2 separate regions of the Homo sapiens genome follow, and region 2 is linked to region 1. Evidence: promoter capture Hi-C in 16 types of primary human blood cells and fetal thymus (Javierre and others, 2016). All regions are on one chromosome and are shown on one strand. The core of a region is centred on a gene start or on the middle of the fragment in contact, and the rest is flanking DNA. Distances in the headings are between cores, read along the strand shown.

What was found. Contacts are between HindIII fragments. The CHiCAGO score rates a contact against its expected background, and 5 or more counts as called.
Region 2: a contact is called between a fragment that was not itself captured here and the fragment with the promoter of FOXA1 in region 1, in 1 of 17 cell types (megakaryocytes). The highest score is 5.1, in megakaryocytes.

The regions. Positions count from the first base shown.
Region 1 is chr14:37,592,762-37,596,998 of GRCh38, forward strand. It overlaps FOXA1 (forkhead box A1), which reads right to left and starts at 2,488. Exons shown (of 2, transcript NM_004496.5): 1 at 2,140-2,488. The coding sequence starts at 2,211. TTC6 (tetratricopeptide repeat domain 6) reads left to right here and starts at 2,868. Exons shown (of 33, transcript NM_001310135.5): 1 at 2,868-3,247. RefSeq lists enhancers at 2,424-3,283, 2,797-3,996. The HindIII fragment of the contact is 10,101 bases long and covers 1-4,237 here.
Region 2 is chr14:37,224,330-37,228,566 of GRCh38, forward strand. The region is part of intron 1 of MIPOL1 (mirror-image polydactyly 1); the gene reads left to right. Among named protein-coding and RNA genes, the nearest start is that of MIPOL1, 29 kb to the left of the region's middle. The HindIII fragment of the contact is 7,955 bases long and covers 1-4,237 here.

The DNA.
Region 1 (4,237 bases), core at 1,238-3,737:
GGGCACTGGAGGGCGGCCGTCCGGGACCTAACCCGGGGGCAAGTGCAGAGCACTTTGCAGAACACGGGACGCCCCCACCCGGGGCAAATGGCTAAGCGCCCTCCCCAGACCGAGCAAAGATGTCTTGCACGGCAGGGGGAAAATCCTAGCGCGGCAGGCATGAAAGATAAACGCTCACAGAAAATATGACCCCAGGAAGATGTGTAATCGCCTTACACGCCAGGCTCAGGGGCTGGCTTCCAGGGCCCCCTCATCGCCTCCTCCATCCACGCCAGGCGGTATCCCAAGTCTCCACCCCAACCAGCCTCGGCAAAGCGCCCTTTGGGGGGAAATCGTTGATAGAGCAAATCACCTATGGACATGGGACCCCCTGAATCATCTGTTTCCCAACAAGTGGCTTTATTGTCCTAGGGGTTTTTGCCTATGGTGACTTTTTGTTGTTTATTGTATTTAGAAGTAGTGTTTTCTACCTGCTTGTAGCAACTGTAATGTTAAAAGGGAAGCAAACTCAGAGTTAAATAAGTTTTGGAAAAATAAAACTAAAAGTAGATCCATAACAGAAAGGGCTGGGAGGGGGTGCTATAATAATCTCAAAGTGCTATATGCATTTTATTTTAACATGACTTTACATGTACACCTTTGCAAGCTATTTAGAAACTCGCATTAATTTTGTCACCACTTTACAGTCCCCTGTTTGAAAAATTTGGTGACACAGTTTGTCAAAATAAATCTTTTTTTTTTTTCACATGCTGATGTTGCTGCCGATGATTTCAACGCCTGGCTTTGAGATTCCGTGAGTAGTCTTGAATAATTTAAAATTCGAAAATCAAATTCTACTTATTTTCTCTTAATGCTATTGTATTTCCTAATTCTCAGCTTTAACATGTAAGAAAGTACTTTCGCTAGGGGTCTTAATTGAATGGTGGGGTCGAGATGACTGCGTCAGAATTAAATCTCTGGAAGACCTCTGAGCTCCTTTTAAAATCATCAACAAGCGAAAATCCTTATCAATAGCGATGTGGGAATGCATTAGGTACAGTATTTTAAACATACAAAACCTAGGCATATTAAAAAGCACTCCTCTGGTAATTTAATAAGGAATAATGATGTCCTTAAGTTTATTTTAATCAGCAAGTATGACTCAATTTGAAAATATGAGAACAAATAGATTTAAATAGGAACACCCAGTAAACTATGGTATGCAAATAAACTCAGAGGTAAACTTGTGAATACATAAATCTAAATAAGTCAGTTACCATCAAAATATTACGTGATCCTATATTTTTCTGTCCACGTCTTAAAAGTATTTTTTACCTTGGGGCTTTATTTTCTTTCCCTCTTCCCAAGATTATCCAAGGCAGTTCCAATACGCGTTTTCAATAATGGTAATTAAACTTTTGGAGGGTAATCGCCAGCTGTTTCCAGAAAAATACTTTTAATAGGTGGTAGTCCTCCCTGTAACTGGTTTTCCCTGTAATCCTTTTGTGCACATTGTAAAAATAACCCCCATGAACGTGCCACCAAGGGGACAATGAAGAGAAACAGGTTCTCGGCCCAGAGTTGTGAAGAAGATTTTGGTCGCACTAGCGCCACCCAGCGGTTTTAGAGAAGGAGCACACTTCTCCCCAAATAGGGCTTTTGAAGAACAAGTTTTACAAAATTTAGAAATCGTTTCATTATTGAGACACCCAACTTGGCGGCAGAGCGCTTTAATCAGAAGACGTCTGCGAATTAAACGGTGGGACGAAGAGGTCGCCTTGTGGGTATGCTCCGGCTTTCTCAGAGTTGCTTCCAACTCGCACCGGCGCTCGCCCGCCCGCTGCACCCCGGGCCCGGCTCCTGCTCCCGCTCGCTGCTGGGAAGAGGCAAGCGCTTCCTAGAGCCGCTGTTTTCAAAGCCCGGAGTTTCCTAAAACTCCCTCTCCGGCTGCGAGAGTCGGGACAGAGCAGGGCAGCAGGTCCCGCTTCCAGGCCCGGCCAAGGCCCGGCCGGGGCCACACCGGCGGGCGGGCAGCGGTGGCACCGAGAAGGCGCCCCCGGCCCGCCTGCCTGCCTTGCCTGGCGCCCACCGCTCCCCGGCCTCCCCCGGCACGGGCTCCAGCGGCGCCCCACCGGCCGCCCGCCTCGCCTTGCCTCTCACCTCCTGCGTGTCTGCGTAGTAGCTGTTCCAGTCGCTGGTTTCATGCCCTTCCATCTTCACAGTTCCTAACATCCTGGAGCCACCCTGCCCAATACAACCATCCAGCCCTGTGCGAAGCGACGGGCGGCCGCGCGGCGCGGGGCGGGGGAGGGGAGCTGAGCAGCTGCAGTCACCCGAGCGCCCGCGCGGGCCCAACGCCACCCGGGCGAAGAGGAAGCCCAGAGCTGCGGGGCGCGGCGTGCGCGGCGGCGGCGGCGGCGCGGCGGGCGGGGGCAGCGCCGGGGGCAGGCGGCTGCCGCGGAGCGCGGCGCCGGGGAGCGCCTCCGCGGGAAGTGAGCGGGCTGCCTCTGCGAGGCAAGTGCAGTTGAGCTGATGTGGATCTTACGTCGCTTGAGTGCCCACCTCCTCGTCCTCTCCCCATTTGTCCGCCGCACAAAGACGCTCGCACCTACAAAGCCCGAGGTGCACCTGCAAGGCGGCCGCCCGCCAGTCCGGCCGCCGCGCCTCCCGCCCCGCCGCTTCACCGCTGCGCGCGACCCCTCCCCCGCGACCCCTCCCCCAAGCGGGGCCCTCACTTTGTTTGCAAAGCAGTGTAATTGGTTTAGGCCCGGAGGCTAGGGAAAGAGGGAAATGGGGAGGGAGGGGGTGTAACCCCCTTTGGAAAAAGAAAAAATAGGCGGGGCCAGGCGGGCGGGCGGGCTAGGGCTCTGGATCGGAACCTCGCAGCCGGAGAAGGCCGGGGGCGGTGGCGTCGGAGACTGGGCTTAGAGACCTTGTGGGATAACTGACCCCGGGGTCCCTCCCCAGAGGTACACGCCACCTTCCGAGCGCGGGCTGCGGCCCAGTCTCGCGCCCCTCCTGCTCTTTGCTTCCTCCCTCCTGATTCCTGACCCAAAGTTCAACCCCGGGAGACTGGAGAATACAGACTTTTTTTTTTCTTTCCTCCTGAGAGCTTCAGACTAGAAAAGGGAAAAAGCCCCACTTTTGCTTCGTCACTAGAAACCGGGTCATCTGAGTCAGCCGAGCCAAGTGACGTTAGGCCGACCCGGGCCCCGGGCTAGCAGAGCGGAGGCGCTGCCACGAAACTCGTACCTGCGGCTAAGAGCAGGTGAGTCACAGCACCGGTTTATATCTTTATGACATAACTTTTTTTTTTTGTTCCGCCTCGGTCCGCTCCTCTCCCCTTGTCATCTGTAGCGACCACAAAGAGGAAGAAACTGAGAGCAGATGTCTGTGTGATAGGGCAGGCGGACCCAAGTCGGGCCGTCCTCCCCCTGCCGGGCTCCTCCTCCCGCCCCCCTTCAGCCGCTTCAGGGAGTGAGCTGGAGACGACCGTCTGGTTTCTGATAGGAAAAGGTCAGGGGGAGGGGACATCTCCCATAACACGCGCGTTAGCTGGGAGAGCAAGGGCCTGGGCGCGGGAACGCATCTGCACTGCGAAAGAGATGCCAGGCAGAAGCCCGAGACTGCCCGCAGCGGCGCTTGGTCCTGTCTGTGACCCGGAGGGTCCGGGCTGAGATCTCAGGGGCTCGCTTGGTTCCTAATCGGTCCTGGACGTCGGTGGGAGAGTCTTCCCAACGCAAAGTCTCTTTACTCTCATGAGGCCCTGGGTGGTGGTTGCCCACTTGTCCTGGGAGAGAGAACAACTGAAGTGACCGGGTGATAGGCAATTAGTTGGTGATAGATTGGGAGATGGTGCGTGTGTTTTGAGTGTGTGACCGTTTGTATATTTCTGAGCATGTGTGACTGTGTGTGTTTCTGAGTGTCTGTGACCATGTGTTTGTTGTACTGCCTGTAGAACCACTAGGTTTCCTTAAGTAACAATAAAATAAAATCTAAAGTAATTAAGAATCCGCAAAATCTTCTTGTTTTGCAAAGTTTTTAAAATGTTATTAATCTCATTTTAAGAAATGTGTTTTAACTTGTCTTCCAAACAGATACCTTTTTCCCTGTGCTTTGTTCTTTTAAATCTCTTTTACTTGAAATCTGGCAAGAGAATCACTTTAAATCCCTGAACCAAACAAATCTCTTAAGTCAGCAGGGGAGCAGAGAGGGTGAAGATGTGCAGTTAAGGAAATAAAAAAAGATAAAAGCATTG
Region 2 (4,237 bases), core at 1,195-3,694, 370 kb before region 1:
AGTAGTTGGGTGTATTAGTCCACTTTCATGCTGCTGATAAAGACATACCCATGACCAGGCAATTTACAAAAGAAAGAGGTTTAGTGAACTCACAGTTCCATGAGGATGGAGAGGCCTCACAATCGTGGTGGAAGGTGAAAGGCACATCTCACATGGTGGCAGACAAGGGAAGACAGTGAGAGCCAAGTGAAAGGGATTTCCCCTTATAGAACCATCAGATCTTGTGAGACTTATTCACTACAACTGGAACAGTATGGGGGAAACCACCCCCATGATTCAATTATCTCCCATTGAGTCCCTCCTACAACATGAGGGAATTATGGGAGTTATAATCCAAGATGACATTTGGGTGGGGACACATCCAAACCATATCGTTCCACCCCGGCCCCTCCCAAATCTCATGTTCTCACATTTCAAAACCAAGCATGCCTTCTCAACAGTCCCCCAAAGCCTTAACTCATTTCATCATTAACTCAAATGTCCACAGTCCAAAGCCTTAACTGTTACAAGGAAAGTCCCTTCTGCCTATGAGCCTGTAAAATCGAAAGCAAATTAGTTATTTTCTAGATATAAAGGGGGTATAGGCATTGGGCAAATACAGCTATTCCAAAGGGGAGAAATTGGCCAAAACAAAGGAGCTACAGGCCCCATGCAAGCCCAAAATCCAGTGGGGCAGTCAAATATTAAAGTTCCAGAATGATCTCCTTTGACTCCATGTCTCACATCCAGGTCACGCTGATGCAAGAGGTGGGTTCCCATGGTCTTGGGCAGCTCTGCCCTTGTGTTCTTGCAGGGTACAGCCTCCCTCCCAGCTGCTTTCACAGGCTGGCATTGAGTGTCTGCAGCTTTTCCAGGCACATGGTGCAAGCTGTCAGTACTTACACCATTTTAGGGTCTAGAAGATGGTGGCCCTTTTCTCACAGCTCCACAAGGTGGTGCCCCAGTAGGAACTTTGTGTGGGGGCTCTGACCCCACATTTCCCTTCTGCACTGCCCTAGCAGAGGTTCTCCATGAGGGCCCCACCCTGCCGCAAACTTCTGCCTGGACATCCAGGCATTTCCGTACATCCTCTGAAATCTAGGCAGAGGTTCCCAAACCCCAATACTTGACTTCTATGCACTTGCAGGCTCAACACCACATGGAAGCTGCCAAGGTTTGAGGCTTGCACCCTCTGAAGCCATGGCCTGAGCTCTATGGTGGCCCCTTTCAGCCATGGCTGGAGCAACTGGGACACAGGGCACCAAGTCCCTAGGCTGCACACAGCACAGGACCCCTGTGGCTGACCCACTTTTTCCTCATAGGCCTCCGGGTCTGCAGTGGGAGCAGCTGCTGTGAAGACCTCTGACATACCCTGGAGACATTTTCCCCATTGTCTTGGGGATTAATATTTGGCTCCTCATTACTTATGCAAATTTATGCAGTCGGCTTGAATTTCTCCTCAGAAAATGGGATTTTCTTTTCTATCATGTGGTCAGGCGGCAAATTGTCTGAACTTTTATGCTCTGCTTCCCTTATAAAACTGAATGCCTTTAACAGCACCCAAGTCACCTCTCGAATGCTTTGCTGTTGAGAAATTTCTTCCGCCAGACACCCTAAATCATCTCTCTCAAGTTCAAAGTTCCACAAATCTCTAGGGAGTGGCAAAATGCCTCTAGCCTCTTGCTAAAACATAACAAGAGTCACCTTTATTCCAGTTCCCAACAAGTTTCTCATTTCCATCTGAGACCACCTAAGCCTGGACTTTATTGTCCATATTGCTGTCAGCATTTTGGGCAAAGCCATTCAACAAGTCTCTAGGAAGCTCAAAACTTTCCCACATTTTCCTGTCTTCTTCTGACCCCTGCAAACTGTTCCAACCCCTGAGTATTACCCAGTTCCAAAGTTGATTCCACATTTTTGGGTATCCACAGCAGCACCCCACTCTGCTGGTAGTAATTTGCTGTATTAGTCTGCTTTCATGCTGCTGATAAAGGCACACCCAAGACTGGGCAATTTACAAAAGAAAGAGGTTTAATGGATTCACAGTTCCATGTGGTGGACTCACAGTTCTACGTGGATGGAGAGGCCTCACAATCATGGTAGAAGATGAAAGGCACGTCTCACAAGGCAGCAGACAAGAGAAGACAGTGAGAGCCAAGCAATAGGGGTTCCCCCTTATAGAACCATCAGATCTCATGAGACTTATTCACTACCACGAGAACAGTATGGGGGAAACCACCCCCACGATTCGATTTTCTCCCACTGGGTCCCTCCCACAACATGAGGGAATTATCGGAGCTACAATTCAAGATGACTTTTGGGTGGGGACACAGCAAAACCATATCACTGGGTGTGGTGGTGCATGCATGCCTTTAGTCCCAGTAACTCAGGAGGCTGAGATGGGAGGATTGCTTGAGCCTGGGAGTTCAAGACTGCAGTGAGCCATGGTTGCACTACTGCACACCAGCCTGGGCAGTGGAGTGAGATCCTATTTCAAAAAAAAAGGGAAAGTGTTTTACCTTTCAGCTAACATGCTGGCTTAGGACTCCTTTCTGGGTAGTGTGAGAAATACTCCTTGGGAGTTTGGAGATAAGATTTTTGGCAGCTTCCTGATTATTAAGAATTCAGTGTCCAGTTAATTCTTGACTGTGATGCTGCCTCTTTTGAATTTGTTTTGTAAGAAGCTGAAAATGTCTCTGAATATATGAGGTGCTGTGAGAGCTAGGGAACTCATAAGGCATATGTATTAGTTTCCTACTGCTGCTGTAACAGCTGTAAAAAATCACTAATTGGGTGGCTTAAAACAACACAAATTTATTATCTTACGGTTCTGGAGGTCAGTAATGTGAAATAATTTTCACTGGGCTAAAATGAAAATGGCAGTAGGGCTGGGGATTTTTAGCATCTCTTAGGGAGAATCTATTTCTTGCCTTTTCCTGCTTCTTAGAGACTGCTTGCTGTTCAAATGAAATGGTGCATTTCCCCCAAAGAGGTGATCAATTAACACTGTATAGTCTATTCATGTATTCAATAATTTGAATTTTTTTAAGTGTAGTTAATTATTTAACCTATACAGAGTCATTGTATACTATCTCTCCTCATATCTGGGGTTTGGAAATGGTGGTGCAGCAGAACAGAGACACATCCAAGGTCTAAAACATGAAGTGTGTGGTGTGTGTGTTTGTGTGTGTGTATGTGTGTGTGTATTTTCACAAGTGGAAGTGGGGTGAGCTGGAGGTTATTGAGTCTCAGGCACCACAGAATCACTGTTGACATTTGTTGTTATTGCAACAAGGAACTCCTTTAGTCAGCATTGAGGGAAGTAGGCTGGCAATCTCTTTAAGTTGTGTACCAGGATAGGAGAGACTATCTTGCACTTATAACACCCAAATAATTTTTGGTGTTTCACTCATACAGAGTTTGGCTTAGAGATTAAAGCTCCTTCTATCTTGTGATGCCACCATCGCAAGGTTCTCAAGGTTGTTGTGGGAGAAGAGAAGGCTAAAGGAGCTCATAGAATGCCTTTAATGGTAAGTCCTGAAATTCGCTTGTATCACATCTGCCCACACTACTTTGTCTACAATTCAAGTGACCAAAATATAAATAAGGCTAGGAAATATGATTTTCCTGCACATTTAATAGGAACTGCTATGGTTATAATCCAACTAGGATGGGGATTTGGAAAGGGATAGAGTAGAAGAGGAAATGATGGTTAGATCTCATCTCTTTTCATTACTCCAGCAAGATTTTTACCCTGCCTTGACAGTACCATTTGGCACTTGCTGCTTGGGCTATTGCTGTGGATTTCTGTATTGGTGGGACAGACAATGATTGACCTAAGGCAACATCAGGGACTTAAGAACCATACACATTACACATTTTTCTCTCACCTATTCTTTCAGCATCACCAGTGTCTACCTTTCACCTGAGGTGGCCCCCAACCCTATTTCAAGACAGTTGACACAGATTTCTTGAAGTTTTTGGTTGGTTCCTCAGGTCAATGATTTCTTTCTTTTCTTTTTTTTTTTTTTTTTTTTTAGTAGTTCCAGGTGGATTTTGGGGAAGAGAACTGACAGCCTTTTGCAGTTCATTGTCTTAAGGGGAACTGGACACCTTCCTGACTTCTGATTAAAACATTTTTAGGACAAAAACTCCAACCTTACCTTACCTAAAAAACCGTTTAGTTTCTTGTCCTCGTAAATAGAACAAACAGTTTATTGCTAGGGTCTAGGGATGATGGTAGTGACATGATGGCACC